Linked DNA regions of Homo sapiens: regions 2, 3 and 4 are each linked to region 1. The links are contacts of gene promoters, found by promoter capture Hi-C in blood cells and fetal thymus (Javierre and others, 2016). All regions are on one chromosome and are shown on one strand. The core of a region is centred on a gene start or on the middle of the fragment in contact, and the rest is flanking DNA. Distances in the headings are between cores, read along the strand shown.

Region 1 (2,641 bases), core at 88-2,587:
GGCGGCACTTACGAGGTCCGCGCCGAGAACCCGCTGGGCGCTGCCAGCGCCGCCGCGGCGCTAGTGGTGGACTCGGACGCCGCGGACACGGCCAGCCGGCCCGGGACCTCCACGGCCGCGCTCCTGGCGCACCTGCAGCGGCGGCGCGAGGCTATGCGCGCCGAGGGCGCCCCCGCCTCACCGCCCAGCACCGGCACGCGCACCTGCACGGTGACTGAAGGCAAGCACGCGCGCCTCAGCTGCTACGTGACCGGCGAGCCCAAGCCCGAGACGGTGTGGAAGAAGGACGGCCAGCTGGTGACCGAGGGCCGGCGCCACGTGGTGTACGAGGACGCGCAGGAGAACTTCGTGCTCAAGATCCTCTTCTGCAAGCAGTCGGACCGCGGCCTCTACACCTGCACGGCGTCCAACCTCGTGGGCCAGACCTACAGCTCTGTGCTGGTCGTAGTGCGCGGTGAGCTCCTGGGTGCGGGGCGCGCGGGCCCAGGCTCCTCCGCAACCCGTGCACCTGGGTCCTTTCGCCCTTGCGGTCTGCCGTTTCCCACCCGCGTCTGTCCGGTCGTGGAATCCAGGGTTGCAGGTGTCCGTTCCTGGTGCGCAAAATGCGGGCGACGCCCCACGACCTATTCTAAACACCCGCAACCCGCTTTCCCCACCCAGTCCCCTGCCCGCCCCGCCCCCTTTGCATGCCGCGCCCCCAACCCGCCACCGCTGGCCCACAGACAGGGGCGAGAGGTGTGAGAGGGGCGGGGCCGCAGGGGATCCCACCTCCTCAGCCCCGCCCTCTCCCTCCCGCTGCTCCCAACCCAACCTCCACCACTCTGCCTTCTGCTCTTCTACTCCCCCGCCCCCCAACTTCCTGTCTCCTCCCCTGCGCCCTTCCCAACCCTTAGCCCCTCTGCCTCCTGCTCGCTCCTCTCCCCAGCCCACTCCTCTACCCTGCACCCTCTCCTTTCCAGCCTCCCAGCCCCTCTGCTCCTGTCCCCTATTCCTTCCCACACCCTCACCTCTGCATCCTCCAGTCTCCTTTCCCGCCCACAATCCCCCAATTTCCCCCTTCCCACCCCGCCGTCGTCCTGCACCCTCCGGCCCCGCCCCTCTCACCAGTCTTCTCTCCTGGCAGAGCCCGCGGTTCCCTTCAAAAAGCGGCTGCAAGATCTGGAGGTGCGGGAGAAGGAGTCGGCCACGTTCCTATGTGAGGTGCCCCAGCCGTCCACTGAGGCCGCGTGGTTCAAGGAGGAGACGCGGTTGTGGGCGAGCGCCAAGTACGGCATCGAGGAGGAGGGCACCGAGCGCCGCCTGACCGTGCGCAATGTCTCGGCCGACGACGACGCGGTGTACATCTGCGAGACGCCAGAGGGCAGCCGCACGGTGGCGGAGCTCGCAGTCCAAGGCAGGCGGGGCGGGGCACGGGGCGGGGCACAGGGCGGCTTCGGGGAGGTAGCGGGGGCAAGGAGGCACCGAGAAGGGAGCCGGGGGCGGGGGAGGGGGGAGCCAGGCCGCACGGGCTGGGCGGGCACGGGGGCGGGCAGGGTGCAGACGGACTGGGCTTGCGAGGTACGAGTTGGGACTGGGGCAGGCAGGGGCGGGACTGGGGCGGGAAGGGCAGGTAAGGTGGGGGCGGAGGAGCAAGCTCGGGCCGGGCACGGGGTGGTGATTAGGGGGAAGGGGAGACGGAGTGGGCAGGGGTCTTGTGGGACCGAGCTGGGACTTGGGCCGGCGGGACAGGTAAGGGGTTGCGCGGGGGAGTGAATCGGAGGCAGTTGGGAACCGGGAGACAGGGGGCAAGCGGAGGAGCGAGTCTGGAGCGGGGCGTGCAGGGGCTGGTCTGACTGGCCCGGCTCCCTCCACCCCAGGAAACCTCCTCCGAAAGCTCCCTCGGAAGACGGCGGTGCGCGTGGGCGACACGGCTATGTTTTGCGTGGAGCTGGCGGTCCCGGTGGGCCCCGTCCACTGGCTGCGGAACCAGGAGGAAGTGGTGGCGGGGGGCCGCGTGGCCATCTCCGCGGAGGGCACGCGCCACACACTAACCATCTCCCAGTGCTGCCTGGAGGATGTGGGCCAGGTGGCCTTTATGGCTGGCGACTGCCAGACGTCCACCCAGTTCTGCGTGTCGGGTGAGGGCCTGAGGGTGCTCCCAGGATGGCATCGCTTCCCTGCTGTCTCCCTGGTCCCAGTCCCCTGCCCTCCATTACCTCAGCTCTCTGGGCTTCAGCCTGCTGTACCGAGGGCCGCCGGGCAAGACCATAGCCCTGGCCCTCCAACGTTAGGCTCCCTGAGCCCCCGCGCAGTCTTTCAGCTGCAACCAGAGAAGTGGCTGCAGGTCTGGGGCTGGAGGTTGTGGCCAGTGGTCCAGGTCCCCAGAGCAGCCCCAAGAGAGCTGGGGATCCTGTGACACCCCTCCAGGTGATTCCAGACCCAGGGCTCAGGAAGAGGCTCCCAGTAGTTGACCTCTGCCCACCCTCTACACAGCCCCCAGGAAGCCTCCCCTGCAACCCCCTGTGGATCCTGTGGTAAAGGCCAGGATGGAGAGTTCCGTGATTCTCAGCTGGTCCCCACCACCCCATGGGGAACGCCCTGTCACTATCGACGGCTACCTGGTAGAGAAGAAGAAGCTTGGCACCTACACCTGGATCAGGTG
Region 2 (2,641 bases), core at 91-2,590, 130 kb before region 1:
AGACATCTTTCCATTTGTGTCATACAGCAAGTTATTTTTGCAGTACCATATACGCTATGCGGGAAACTTTTAAGTATTTTATAGGTTTGATTTAGGTACAAATGGCCAAGAAGCTATCATCTATACTCATCCTGGGGATTGGGAACGGAGGCAGTTAGATGTGCCTGTGCTTTGTACCTTCTGTAGATGGGAATGCAGTTGCTCACTCACCAATCAAATTTATTGATTTATATTTAAAATACTATGAATACATCTTCTGGCAATTTTGGTGGTGACATTTTCCTTAAAATATTTGTACTAGCCAGGCACTGTGGCTCACACCTGTGTAGTGCAATCTACTTGGGAGGCTGAGGCAGGAGAGTGGATCACTTGAACCTAGGAGGTCAAGGTTGCAGTGAGCTGTGATCATAACCACTGCACTCCAGCTTGAGTAACAGAGCAGGACCCTTAGCTCTTAAAAAAATTTATACCTACTCATCAGCTGAGGACCTGGGGGCAGGTTTAGAAAACAGATTTTGAACACACATCCTTCCCTCCCTCTTGTGTCTGACATCACTGAGCTGCCACACTTTTGCCTTCAGTAGTTAACAGCATCTACAACCCCATTTTCCCACATTTTTATGGTCAAAAGAATGTTCAGACTGACCCACACATGAGTACAGTTTTTAAAAAGCATGCAATTCCTTGTTGATGCGATAGGTTTTTCGTGACGAACTTAATTTTTAGGGAAAGCACATCTGCAGATGTGTACAGTTGATCTTCATGAGCCCTATGGGCCTGATAAACATTCTTTTGCCATTGTTTTCTCCTCTCCTTGGTGGTGAGTCACTTGTGCAGTGCCCAGCGGAAGAGGGTGGGAGGCTGGGGAGGAAGGCCTGTTCTGGGCAAAGGAAGCCCTGCTTGATGAGCATGAGGCTCCACGGGGGCAGTGGCTGTGACGGTGAGTGCCACACAGAGCTGCCCACACTGGTGGAGGGAAGGCAGGGAGATACCAGGACCATCCGGAAGGGGCTGAGTGTCATTTGACAGGTGCCATGTGAGCAGAGATGTGAAGGAGTGGCCCGGGACAATCAGGGCAGAATCCCTGAGGTGAGTGCGCTGGCTGGCAGAGTTTGGAGACCTGTCAGGAGTAGGGTGCATACTGGGTGGGAAGCCTGCTGGGGTGTGCAGTGGCCCTCGGAGGGGGTCCGCGGTTCCCAGAAAAAGGAATTTGGTAATCTGTGGTGGCATTTTTGGGTGGCAGCACTGGCACCTTTGGCAGTGGCAAGAACACTTCCTGTCTGACCTTCATGTAGGGGAGGTCGTCTGATGTCCCAGACCTGTTATAAATATGAAAAAAAAATTTTTGTGCATAGTTTTAACAGGTGTTCTGAAGTTCCAGGAACAAAATCACCTTATAAATCAAAGATGACTGTGTATTGTTCTCTTCAGAATCACAGCAAGAATTCAGTTTCCAGAAGGAAAAGCTACAGTAGTTGCTTCATGGACATGGCTTGCCCTTGAGGTTGGTGGTGTCAGTGCATGAGCAGCCTGGTAAGGGTGGTTCTCTGGCCGCCACCCTTGGTCCTCTAGCGTGGTTGTGAAGTCACTTTCCTTTACTCCCCATTGCATCATAGTTGGGACAGAGCAGTGGTTCTCTGCCGTCTTGTGCGAGTGCTGGGATGCTGTCTCTACTTCCTTTTGGGTTGCCAGAGGCAGCATTTAGAGCACAGTGTGGGCATTATGTTGTGGACCAAGGCAGCCTATTGCAAGGACCTGATCGGGCGGCAGCCGTGGGGCAGCTCTGAGTAGAACATCGGGTCACCTGGCTGACTGGTGTGCTGAGAACACGCAGGAGGAGGCTGGAGACGGGGTTCTTGCCTGGGGAACAGGAGGGAGGCTACTCGCATCACAGCGGAGAATGCCTGTTGGGTTTGGGAGGGGGGTTTCGGCTGCAAAGCTGGCTGTCAAGGGGCAGGAATTGGGAGGAGGGTCTAAAGTCTTGAAGAGAAATGTGGGGTCGTTGTGTAGGGGCCACCATCACCTGGAGAGCAGGGCAGATGCCAGCGTGTGTGTGAGAACTAGGTCACTTGAAGGGAGGTCCCCAGAGTGTCCCCGGGGTGTGCCTTTCTCTCACCTAGGTCTGGAGTGCCTCCAGAAGCGAGGATTTCCTGCAAGGGCGGTGGCCTCCCAGGGTCTGTGGGGGGGCATCCCCGTCTCTTTACATGTCTGACTGACCAGAGTGGGGTGGGGTGGCAAGGTGGTGCTCGTCCCAAAGCTGGGGGAAACCTGGTGATGGTTCCCACTCCCATTGTTGCACTTCGCTTTTGATTTCTCTGGAAGAGCAAGTCTTTGTGTGGTGTTTCCCCTCAGCCTACATTTTTAAAATGAACGTTTCTTGAAGGCAGAAATCAAGTTTTAGGCATTGGCTCAATCACTGGTGCAGCCATTGCATTAATTTTCTTTAACCTGGTGCGGAGAAGCTACAAGGGCCCCACCCCCTTCTAGTGGTTGGAGGAAGGAGCAACTTGCTCTCCCAGTTTATGACAGCAACACCAGCAGTGTGCTGTTCCAGTTCCCCTTTTTTTTTTCAAGTGGTGTAGAAAGGGGCCTTCAGGGCCCTGGATCCCCCAGCCCCACACAATGGTGGGCCTATGTTCGT
Region 3 (2,641 bases), core at 47-2,546, 87 kb before region 1:
TGAGTCCACACTCCTACACGTCCTAGAACTGGGGTTAATCAGAAGTGAGCATGGAAGACTAGCATCCAAGATGGAGGTGCTTTAGCCTGCACATGGTGAGTATTCTTTTGGTTTCATTTTTGGCTGCTTGCATGCAAATTAGACCTTTTCCTCTTGTTTTCATTGTTTCTAAACATCGTTTGAGAGCAAAATAACACAACATTGTTGTACACGGTTGAACACTTAAGAGCCACTGGGGTTCTCACCACCATTTTATAACAGATTCGAGTCTCCAAAGTCAAAGACTCCTTTGAAAGGACAAACTGGTCAGATACAGGCAATATTACCACTGGGGGCATACCAGTTTCAAGAAAATTTCTGTGTAACAAGGGCTCCGTGGTCACAGGTCAGACAACTTAGGGCAAAGGCCATCCACCAAGCAAAACAAGTATCCTGTGAAAGGCATACTTGTGAAAGCAGAACACTTTGTTCAAGAGTTAGTTTCCTCAAAGGACCAATAGGATTTTCTTTTTGCTTTTGAGAGATTAAGAAAGAGAATGGGATTCCCAAATTCTAAAGCATGCAGGGCAACCCTCCTTCAGGACCCCAGCCAGCTCCATGTCCAGACATTCAGGATCACCCTTGTGCACCCTTTTAAACCAATGGGCAAATTACACTAAGGATAATTTGGAGCTCCAATGGCCATTTGCAGATCAAACTTCTGAAGCTTACTTTTCTGAGAACTAAATTAGGAGACCATGGCTATAGGGTCAGTCTTAATGGGAGACATATTACAATTGGCATCTTGAGGCTTCAAATCACATTCAGGACTCAAAAATTACCTCTATACAAAACACTGTCTCAAAGCCAGTTGAGACAAGTAAACAATTAAAAGAGGCAAAAAAAAAAAAAAAAAAAAAAAAAAAAAAAAAAACCTTAGAGGACCAGACTCTCTCCTCCCTGGAACCTCCTCCCCGACTTCCTACAGCCCTTCCTATGAGCACTGATGACCCAGCTAAATCCCAAGTCTCCTATGTTCCTTTGACCAAGGCTTGGACTAAGGCTGAACTCGGAGCCATTGCCAAGGAATTCCTAAAAGTTACTGAAGACTGTAACTCATTTGCTGATGAATTCAACATGGTAATCCAGGCCTATCAGTCTGGCTTTCCCAGTCTATAACAGCTGCTTCATACACTTGTTGATGAAGGCCAAGCCCAACATTGGATGGCTAAAGCTAACTGGACCCCACCTGAACTAGACAAACGCCCCAATACTGGGAACAAGCTCACAATCTAAAGACCCACAGAGCTATTCTTAAGTTTTCCTTAAAGCCATAGACTGGAACAAGATTCAACTTGTACCCAAAACCAAATGAACAAGTTCAGAATTATTACAGTGTTACAGTTGACTCCGCATCATCTTTAAGGACAATTCTAGACTTCTGTAAATGTTTATTCTACCCAAGTAGCCTTTAATTCTATGTTTGTGAATGGCCTAACTTGAGAGCTTTCCCAGCTTGTTAAAATAATCCACATGGAATGCGGAGGCATGTCCACTCCACATTTAGTAAGGTTGGCCAATCAGCCCCATGAGGATACCAATAAAAAGAAAATTATCAAAATCCTCAACCACCAGCTGCAACAAACAGAAGCCCCCAAACAAAATCCTCCTGGCCCCTACCATTATTATAAAAAACTGGACACTGGAAGAGAGGTTGCTATAAGTTAAAGAGAGTTAAATGACCCCTCCCTCAAAACCCTCAAGGTGTATATTCCTTTATTAAGCCATTCTTGAATTGCTATAAATACCCAAGACTGGGTAATTTGTAAGAAAAAAAAGAATTAATTGGCTCACAGTTCTGCAGGCTGTGCAAGAAACATGCAGCATCTGCTTCTGGAGAGGACTCAGGAAGCTTCCAATCATGGCAAAAGGTGAAGCAGGAGCAAGAGAGAATGGGGGAGGTGCCACACACTTTTAAACAACCAGATCTCTCGAGAACTCACTCGCTATCATGAGGACTGCACCTGCACCAAGAGGATGGTGCTAAACCATTCATGAGCAATCCACCCCTGTGATCCAATTACCTCCCACCAGGCCCCACCTCCAATACTACATAGAGATTGCAATTCTTTCCTTCCTTCCTTCCTTTCTTTCTTTCTTTCTTTCTTTCTTTCTTTCTTTCTTTCTAGATAGGGCCTCACTCTGTTACTCAGTTTGGAATGCGGTGGCAAAATCTCAGCTCACTGCAACCTCTGCCTCCCATGCTCAAGCAATCTTTCCACCTCAGCCTCCTGAGTAGCTGGGACCATAGGCGCGCATCACCATGCCTGGCTAATTTTTTTGTATTTTTGGTAGAGACAGGGTTTTGCCTTGTTGCCCAGGCTGGTCTCGAACTCCTGAGTCCAGGCAATCAACCTGCCTCAGCCTTCCAGAGTCTTGGGTTTACAGGTATGAGACACTGCCCCCAGCCTGGGGATTACAATTCAACATGAAATTGGGGCAGGACATTAAAACCATATCAACTCCCAGTAATGGGACTCCAGCGAATTGTAGGGATTCTTCTCATCCTTCCCCACAACCATGTTAGGGAAATAACTCTTAAGATCAAGAATGAGGTCCTAACTGTCCTTATAGTTACTGGAGCCACATTTCCAGGGCTCAA
Region 4 (2,641 bases), core at 40-2,539, 66 kb after region 1:
GGGCAGTCAGGAGCTGCAGCCCGGGCCCAAGTACGAGCTGGTCAGTGATGGCCTCTACCGCAAGCTGATCATCAGTGATGTCCACGCAGAGGACGAGGACACCTACACCTGTGACGCCGGTGATGTCAAGACCAGTGCACAGTTCTTCGTGGAAGGTGCAGGCAGGGAGGGCAGCTCTGCAGGTTGCTTTTGTTGGGGGGAGTCTCCCAGGTCCATGGTTTGCCCTACACTCCTGGAGACGCTGGGTCTGGGCAGCTCAGGAGGATGCTAGCATGCATCTAGCAGGGCGGGGGCTTGTTCCCAGGAAGGAACCCTGCCGGAGGGGCAGCATGTCCTATCCGCGGGATCCGCCAGCGACTGCTCCTCCCCAACAGAGCAATCCATCACCATTGTGCGGGGTCTGCAGGACGTGACAGTGATGGAGCCCGCTCCTGCCTGGTTTGAGTGTGAGACCTCCATCCCCTCAGTGCGGCCACCTAAGTGGCTCCTGGGGAAGACGGTGTTGCAGGCTGGGGGGAACGTGGGCCTGGAGCAGGAGGGCACGGTGCACCGGCTGATGCTGCGGCGGACCTGCTCCACCATGACCGGGCCCGTGCACTTCACCGTTGGCAAGTCGCGCTCCTCTGCCCGCCTGGTGGTCTCAGGTGAGCACTCCCGCCCCGGTGGGTGGACGTGGGGCAGAGCCACAAGAGGACAAGGTTCAGGGCTGTTGGGAGGCCTGGACAGGGCTGTGGGTGGGTACAGGGCAGGGCCATGGGAGGAGAAGGCTCAGGGCAGTGACAACACAGTTCAGGGCCACAGATGGATATCAATTAGGGCCAGGGGAGGACACAGTTCAGGACTGCAGAGGACACAGCTCAGGGCCAGGGGAAGACATAGTTCAGGGAATGGTGGACACAGCTCAGGGCCAGGGGCGGACACAGTTCAAGGCCATAGGTGAGCAGGCTCAGGGCTTGGCAGGCAGGGCAGGGTGATTGGTTCCTGTGGTGCCGTGGCCCAGCCTCTCCCCACTCCCTGCAGACATCCCCGTAGTCCTCACACGGCCGTTGGAGCCCAAGACAGGGCGTGAGCTGCAGTCAGTGGTCCTGTCCTGCGACTTCCGGCCAGCCCCCAAGGCTGTGCAGTGGTACAAGGATGACACGCCCCTGTCTCCCTCTGAGAAGTTTAAGATGAGCCTGGAGGGTCAGATGGCTGAGCTGCGCATCCTCCGGCTCATGCCTGCTGATGCTGGTGTCTACCGGTGCCAGGCGGGCAGTGCCCACAGCAGCACTGAGGTCACTGTGGAAGGTGGGGCATGAGGGGCATGGGGCTACTGAGAGGGTTTTGGGGAGGGGTTGCCTGGTGATGTGGACACTGAGGCCCGGTGTGTCTCTTGCAGCGCGGGAGGTGACAGTGACAGGGCCGCTACAGGATGCAGAGGCCACGGAGGAGGGCTGGGCCAGCTTCTCCTGTGAGCTGTCCCACGAGGATGAGGAGGTCGAGTGGTCGCTCAACGGGATGCCCCTGTACAACGACAGCTTCCATGAGATCTCACACAAGGGCCGGCGCCACACGCTGGTACTGAAGAGCATCCAGCGGGCTGATGCGGGCATAGTACGCGCCTCCTCCCTGAAGGTGTCGACCTCTGCCCGCCTGGAGGTCCGAGGTGAGTCATCCCACGAGTCTTCGGGACTCCCCACTAGGAATGGGACAGGCGCTGGCCTCCCTCACCCTCCTATCCCTCCTGCAGTGAAGCCGGTGGTGTTCCTGAAGGCGCTGGATGACCTGTCCGCAGAGGAGCGCGGCACCCTGGCCCTGCAGTGTGAAGTCTCTGACCCCGAGGCCCATGTGGTGTGGCGCAAAGATGGCGTGCAGCTGGGCCCCAGTGACAAGTATGACTTCCTGCACACGGCGGGCACGCGGGGGCTCGTGGTGCATGACGTGAGCCCTGAAGACGCCGGCCTGTACACCTGCCACGTGGGCTCCGAGGAGACCCGGGCCCGGGTCCGCGTGCACGGTGTGTGGCTGCAGGCACGGCAGAGCTCAGGGAAGGGAGGCGTGCTGGGTGGGCATGGATGTGGGGCCAGCCACTACCTGGGTGGCCCACATCATTCTCTGAGATTGAAGGGCTGCTCTGCTGAGCCGGGGAGGTCAGGGGAGCCTTCTGGGGGAGCCATGGCTTGATGTGGTCCTGTGAGGCCTGGGTGCAAGCAGGTGGACCCGGGGACAGTGGGTCCCGGAGCCAGAAATTGTCCCCGGAGCCAGGGTTGGAGGCTGTGCTGTCCCTGCCCGCTGGTCCCGACGACATAGCCTGGGGATGTTGCCCTGTACCAGGGGACGTGTCTGCATGGAAGTCATCAGGCCACTGTGGGGACACCAGTGGGGATAGCCAGGGAGAAGCCGAGATGCCAGGCAGGGGCTGTGAGTAGGCCACGTCTCTGTCCTTCACGGGGCCCCAGCAAGGCCCTAAGGCCACTGGGCTGGCAGGGTAGAGCCATCCCTGAACCCAGCCCTGCAGCCTTGGGGGCGTGCGTGCCCTGGAACCTGTCCTGCTTTTCAGGGGAAGTTCCCTCAACTGCAGGGTGGCTACCTGGCCCCCTCTGTGTGTGTGCCCGGTCCCAGTGGCATCCTGGTGTGGGTGACAGGTGGTGTAACCAGCCTG

What was found. Contacts are between HindIII fragments. The CHiCAGO score rates a contact against its expected background, and 5 or more counts as called.
Region 2: a contact is called between a fragment that was not itself captured here and the fragment with the promoter of OBSCN-AS1 in region 1, in 1 of 17 cell types (fetal thymus). The highest score is 7.3, in fetal thymus.
Region 3: a contact is called between a fragment that was not itself captured here and the fragment with the promoter of OBSCN-AS1 in region 1, in 2 of 17 cell types (total B cells and fetal thymus). The highest score is 5.4, in total B cells.
Region 4: a fragment that was not itself captured here is called in contact with the fragment with the promoter of OBSCN-AS1 in region 1 in 1 of 17 cell types (fetal thymus); the score reaches 6.9 in fetal thymus.

What each region holds. Positions count from the first base shown.
Region 1 is chr1:228,212,318-228,214,958 of GRCh38, forward strand. OBSCN-AS1 (OBSCN antisense RNA 1) reads right to left here and starts at 1,338. Exons shown (of 2, transcript NR_073155.1): 1 at 1,105-1,338. It overlaps OBSCN (obscurin, cytoskeletal calmodulin and titin-interacting RhoGEF), which reads left to right. Exons shown (of 116, transcript NM_001386125.1): 2 at 1-454; 3 at 1,124-1,393; 4 at 1,857-2,117; 5 at 2,473-2,641. RefSeq lists a silencer at 1,425-1,474. The HindIII fragment of the contact is 3,550 bases long and covers 1-2,613 here.
Region 2 is chr1:228,087,189-228,089,829 of GRCh38, forward strand. The region is part of intron 1 of ARF1 (ARF GTPase 1); the gene reads left to right. Among named protein-coding and RNA genes, the nearest start is that of ARF1, 5.8 kb to the left of the region's middle. The HindIII fragment of the contact is 7,232 bases long and covers 1-2,641 here.
Region 3 is chr1:228,125,277-228,127,917 of GRCh38, forward strand. No RefSeq gene overlaps it. Among named protein-coding and RNA genes, the nearest start is that of GUK1, 14 kb to the right of the region's middle. The HindIII fragment of the contact is 1,185 bases long and covers 705-1,889 here.
Region 4 is chr1:228,278,801-228,281,441 of GRCh38, forward strand. It overlaps OBSCN (obscurin, cytoskeletal calmodulin and titin-interacting RhoGEF), which reads left to right. Exons shown (of 116, transcript NM_001386125.1): 31 at 1-155; 32 at 375-644; 33 at 1,021-1,287; 34 at 1,379-1,645; 35 at 1,730-1,996. Among named protein-coding and RNA genes, the nearest start is that of OBSCN-AS1, 66 kb to the left of the region's middle. The HindIII fragment of the contact is 9,114 bases long and covers 1-2,641 here.